Regions from separate parts of the Homo sapiens genome. Here region 1 is linked to region 2. The links are contacts of gene promoters, found by promoter capture Hi-C in human tissues and cell types (Jung and others, 2019). All regions are on one chromosome and are shown on one strand. The core of a region is centred on a gene start or on the middle of the fragment in contact, and the rest is flanking DNA. Distances in the headings are between cores, read along the strand shown. Region 1 overlaps RABGAP1 (RAB GTPase activating protein 1). Region 2 holds the start of ZBTB26 (zinc finger and BTB domain containing 26).

What was found. Contacts are between HindIII fragments. The study calls those that stand out against the background at their distance.
Region 1: a fragment that was not itself captured here is called in contact with the fragment with the promoter of ZBTB26 in region 2 in 1 of the 25 tissues and cell types used here (mesenchymal stem cells).

The regions. Positions count from the first base shown.
Region 1 is chr9:122,975,692-122,978,391 of GRCh38, forward strand. All of the region lies in intron 2 of RABGAP1 (RAB GTPase activating protein 1), which reads left to right. Among named protein-coding and RNA genes, the nearest start is that of RABGAP1, 36 kb to the left of the region's middle. The HindIII fragment of the contact is 3,118 bases long and covers 1-2,700 here.
Region 2 is chr9:122,930,093-122,932,792 of GRCh38, forward strand. It overlaps ZBTB26 (zinc finger and BTB domain containing 26), which reads right to left and starts at 1,420. Exons shown (of 2, transcript NM_020924.4): 1 at 1,345-1,420. It also overlaps a transcript of RABGAP1 not described here. RefSeq lists a silencer at 1,192-1,531. The HindIII fragment of the contact is 7,569 bases long and covers 1-2,700 here.

The DNA.
Region 1 (2,700 bases), core at 126-2,625, 46 kb after region 2:
TTATTGGATGCTATTTGGCAGGTACTGTGGTGTGAGAGTTAAATGAGATAGTTCTGTAAAAACCACACGATACAGTGCCTGAAATATACGTAAGTGCCCAATAATGTTATCAAACCCTAATAACAATCCTGTGAGATAGATATTAACATCCTCATTTTAGAGATGAGACAGTTGGGGCTCCCAGACATTAATTTGCCCTCAGTTACAGAGTTAATGTCAGAGCAATGTCCCAAAGCCAGATATGTCTTACTTGGGAGTCCAAGTATGGCTACTAAGTTCAGTTGCATAGGCTTTGCACACTACAGTTCTAGTGAGAGCCATTCAGATAATCTGTGCTGTGAATGGGGTGCCTCTTGGAGTTGTGCCACAAAACAACTCTGGGCCCAGTTTTTTTTAGTACCACCCTGCTATGTAAGCAGAATTATGAATAAACAATTCATCATGCAGTCTCCATCCCTGCAAACGTTTATGTCATATGTTTACAGTAGCTGCTAAATGCTAAATTGGCCTTTTTATGTTTATTGTTTTCCTTAACAATTCAGGACTTTCCTAAAGAACTGTTCCTTTTAATGTAGAGTACATGGAAATAAACACAAATCTAAATGTAATTCTTAGTTGTACTATTCATAAATATTTGTTTTGCTTTTTTTGTCTTCATATTTGTGCTAAATTACATTAGAAGTCTTTGTTGGACTTCAAAATATATTGTTTGTGTTTTGCACTGGGCTCTTTGCAGTGTTCTTATTGTAAATGTTAGCCCTTAATGACACTTGCTCAGAATAATGAAAACAGATGGTATTTGTTTTTGTTTTTGTATTTTAGTAGATAAAGCTAAAGTCATTCAGATTTCCTTTCTATAATTAAACCAAAATTTGTAGAATATTCAGTATCCAAGTAGGATAAAATCATACTGCTTTGGCTTCCATTCTTTGCATTTGTAACATTCAGTTCAGTAAATATGTATTTCAGGTGTATTTTGTCCCAGTCACTATCTGAAGCTTTGGGGATATAAAGATAATTTAACAAACAGTCTCTGCCCAGTCTGGTTCAAGGGACTCTCTAAACAAATATTTTCTAAAACAAGTAGCAATGCTAGAATAAACATATATGCTAATATTATGGTAGCCCTGAGGAGGGAGTGATTAAATCCTATCTAGAACGGTTAAGATCTCCCAGAGGAGATAACAGAATTTAAGGTTGGTCTTAAAGAATACACAGGAGGAGAGGATGACTTTCCAGGAAAGGAAACACTCTATACAAAGTATGGGTGCTTGAAAGTTTATGGTGGGTCCTGGGAAAGTTGAGTAGTTTGCTGTGACTAAGTGACTGGAAAGGCAGATTGAGCAGAGTTGTGAAAAGACTAATAGGATATACTTATGAATTTGGGCTTTATCTTGTGGGCATTGAGGAACCATGGAAGGATTTAAAAACAAGGCAGTGCTTGATCACAACTAAGACTGGCAATTATAAGTTGAATGGTGGCCATATGTGAAAGAGAAGAGAGAGAAAGAAGGCAGGCAAACTACTAACTGCAGTAGGCTTACGTAAAATGAAAGAGGTTGTCCTAAGGTATTAGCTATGCAGAGAAGATAGAAGGGAAAAATGGACAGACAAGGGTCAATAGGATTTGTGAGTTATATGGGAATGAGAGAAATCAAGGATGATTGTAATTCTTAATTTGGCCATGGAGTGAATGGTAGTGCAACTCATTGATTAAAAAAGGATGCAGGAGGGCTGGGTTCGGTGGCTCATGCCTGCTAATCCCAACAGGGAGGCCAAGGCGGGCAGATACTTGAGGCCAGGAGTTTGAGACCAGCCTGGCCAACATGGTGAAACCCACCCCATCTCTACCAAAAATACAAAAATCAGCTGGGCGTGATGGCGCATGCCTGTAATCTCAGCTACTCGGGAGGCTGAGACATGAGAATCGCTTGAACCCAGGAGGCAGAGGTTGCAGTGAGCAGAGATTGCGCCACTGTACTGCTCAACCTGGGCGGCAGAATGAGACTGTGTCTCAAAAAGAAAAAAAAAAGCAGGAAGAGGATCAGTGGCTTAAGTTTTGGACAGAATAAGTTTGATGTATCCAACTGAAGGTCTCTATCCAGTAGACAGTTGAGGAAGGGATTGTAGATAGAGATTTGAGATTGTTTGTTGTTGGGAGTAGATACCATACAGTGGCACAGGAGAGTCTAATAACGTGAAGTTAATGCCAAAGACAGAATCCTGGATGAGCACCTTTAGTAGGGTACATAGAAAAAAAGGAACAGTTGTGTTCTCAAATTGCATCTTTTGTGGAAATCATACTTTTTCTGTTTTATTTTAGGTCAGATTTTTTGAGGTAAAATTTACACCAATAAAATGCAACCCTCTTAGTTGTACAGTCCTGAGTTTTAACAAATGTAAAGTCTCATGTAACGACCAGCACAGTCAAGATGGGGAATACTTTTATTACTCCCAAAAGTCCCCTCGTGCATCTATTTAGTCATACCTTTATTCCCCTTCCCTGATAACCAGTGATCTGATTTCTGTCCCTATAGTTTTGTCTTTTCCAGAATGCCAGGTAAATGGAGTCATACAGTATGTAGTCTTTTTGTGTATGGCTTCTTTTACATAGAATAATGCTTTTGAGATTTGTCCATGTTATTGTGTGTATTAGTAGTTTATTCCTTTTTATTGCTTAGTAGTATTCCATTTTATAGA
Region 2 (2,700 bases), core at 170-2,669:
AACTCAAACTTTTACCTCTAGCTACAATGTTTAGGCTGAGCTAAAGATTTGCATTTCCAACTCCATGCTGGACAGCTCTATGTGTCTGTCTCATTAGACCTTTAATTCAACATGTCCAAAAAATGAATTCATAATCTACACTAAGCTTATGGCTTTATTTCTGATAATGGCATTACCATCCTTCAGCTCAGAGGTCTAAAACCTAAGAATTAGATTTGGTCCCTCACACTTCTTCAGCATTCAGTTAATTATGGAGTCTTGACATAATCATCTCCAGTATATTTGTCTCCTTACCAATGACACCATTATAACTTATTTCAGGAATTTTTTGCCTCTCACTAGGCTGATCCCATTACCCCTTCAAAAGAATCTCCGATAAGCGTTCCTAACTTTTAGCTAAATGTCTAAATGCAGTTAATAGAAAGTCCCTTCTCTATGGGCTTTCTACAGAACAAAATGATTTCCTGCAGTGCAAATCTGACCATATCAATATTCTGTTCCGAACTCTTCAAAAAACTACCCATCTCCTTTAGGATTACACCATTCACCATCTGGACCTCGGTCGACTTTCCCAGTCTCATATCCATTCTGTGCATAGGAGTCCCCCCATTTCCTCCTCTTCCCACACAAGTTATGCTCAGTCATTTCTCCACAGTATTGCAACTGTCTTCCCTGAAAAACTCTTCAACACTTTACTCTCTCCAAGTACAATTCAGACATCACTTTCTTTCTAAAGCCTTCTCAGCAACGGCCCCTTGAGCAATTAACACATATGTGACTGATACATACATACATATATATACACATAGGAGTACTTATTTGTTCAGATCTGGCTCCCAAACTTAATCCCGAAAACTGGAACAATATCTTGCCAATCTCCAGTGTCTGGTATAGCGCCAGTAATATAAAAGGTGCTGCGACCAGTGGCCAAATAGGGGAAAACCCCAGCAAAAGGGTAACCTAGCACTCACAGTGGTTCTCAAAGACTGGCACTGAATGCCTGGTCTTGGGCTGGCTCCCGAGGCTCGTTTTCTTAGGGCCTCACCTCTGGCACTTCTTATAAGATGCCAGAGTCAGGCCCCCAAGCCAACTGCTGGGCCCTCAGCTGGGGTCCTATGAGGCGGTCCCAGGGGCATCCTCAGGCTCCCCACTCCAGTCACAGGGAAGGGAAAGGGGCGGGGCGCAGCGTGGGCCGGGCCAAGGGCTCCTCAAGTCCCCAGGGGCCTAGGCCAGCCTCTCGGCTCCCATCCCAGTGCAGGTCCCGGTTGATCCAGGGCCCCAGGGGGGTTCCATTTTGAGACACCCCGCACCCCAGCCCGCCGCTCCGGCCGTCTCCGCACTTACAGACCCGGGGGAAGGCCGCCGTCAGGATCCGGCACCGCCAGGAGCTCCGGCCCCTCGGGGCTCCGGGAAGGGGGAGGGGCAAGGAACCCGAGCCAAAGGGGGACCCAACGGAACCGGAAGGGCAGCCCTGGCCGGACAAAGACAACTTCCAGGTCCCATGGTCCTCTCCGCCAATCGGAAGGCTCGGAGGACAACAGGGGCCCCGAGAGGGAATTTCTGCGTTGTGGGCGGGGCGCAGACGGAGGGCACCGTACTCTGGGCACTAGCTTCACTGCCTACTACCCCGAGGTGCCTTAGCTCGTAAGCGTCTGTGGCTCAGGCCCTGTGCGCCTCGCAGGGACCCGCTGCTCGGGACCCCCGTCTCAGCGGCTCTTCTGTAGCTGGGCCTAGACGGTCCGCTGCCTCCTTGGGCCTGAAGGGCTCCTCTGCACTTAAACTTTGGTAAGTCTTTTTAGCCTAGGGGTGTAGACTCGTCGCGCGGGAGCCCGAAGAGCAGAAAGCTCTCCCCTCACTTTTGGATGTGTTTTTCAGGGTTCTTGCCTTGGAGTTCTTCCTAGGGCAAACTCTTGCACTCCCATGGCTTCCGTTACCTACTTCATGCTGACCATTCACAACCCAGGCAGCTACATGGACGAGATCTCCAGCTGTCCTGATGTGAAAGTACCTTTTAATGATCTCAAGTTCATCTCATCTCCTATCCAGACCGGAAAACTTGAGGATCCTTCTAGAGTTCTTTTCCTTGCCAATCCAGTTTACTGGTTTTTGACCATTCTTTTCGTTTTTGGTGGTGGTGAGGGGCTTTTTATTGAGGTAAAACATGCGTAATGTTTATTACTTTAATCATTTGTAAGTGTAAAACTTGATGGTCTTGAACTCTGGAGTTAAAGTGATCCACCCTCCTCAGCCTCCCAAAGTGCTGGGATTACATGTGTGAGCCACTGCTCCCAGCCTTTCCCTCTTTTTAATGTAGTTATTTACAACTATACATTTCACTTTGATCACTGTTTTCACTACAGCTCATAAGTTTTTGTATGTTGTGTTATTTTCATTCATTTCTAAGTATTTTCTAATTTCCCTTTTGATTTCTTCTTCTTTTTTTTTCTTTTTTTTGAGATGGAGTTTCGCTCTTGTTGCCCAGGCTGGAGTGCAATGGTGTGATCTCGGCTCACCGCAACCTCCGCCTCCTGGGTTCAAGCGGTTCTCCTGCCTCCGTCTCTAAAGTAGCTGGGATTACAGGCATGCGCCACCACACCGGGCTAATTTGATATTTAGAGATATGGAGACGTGGTTTCTCCGTGTTGGTCAGGCTGGTGTCGAACTCCCGACCTCAGGTGATCCACCCGCCTTGGCCTCCCA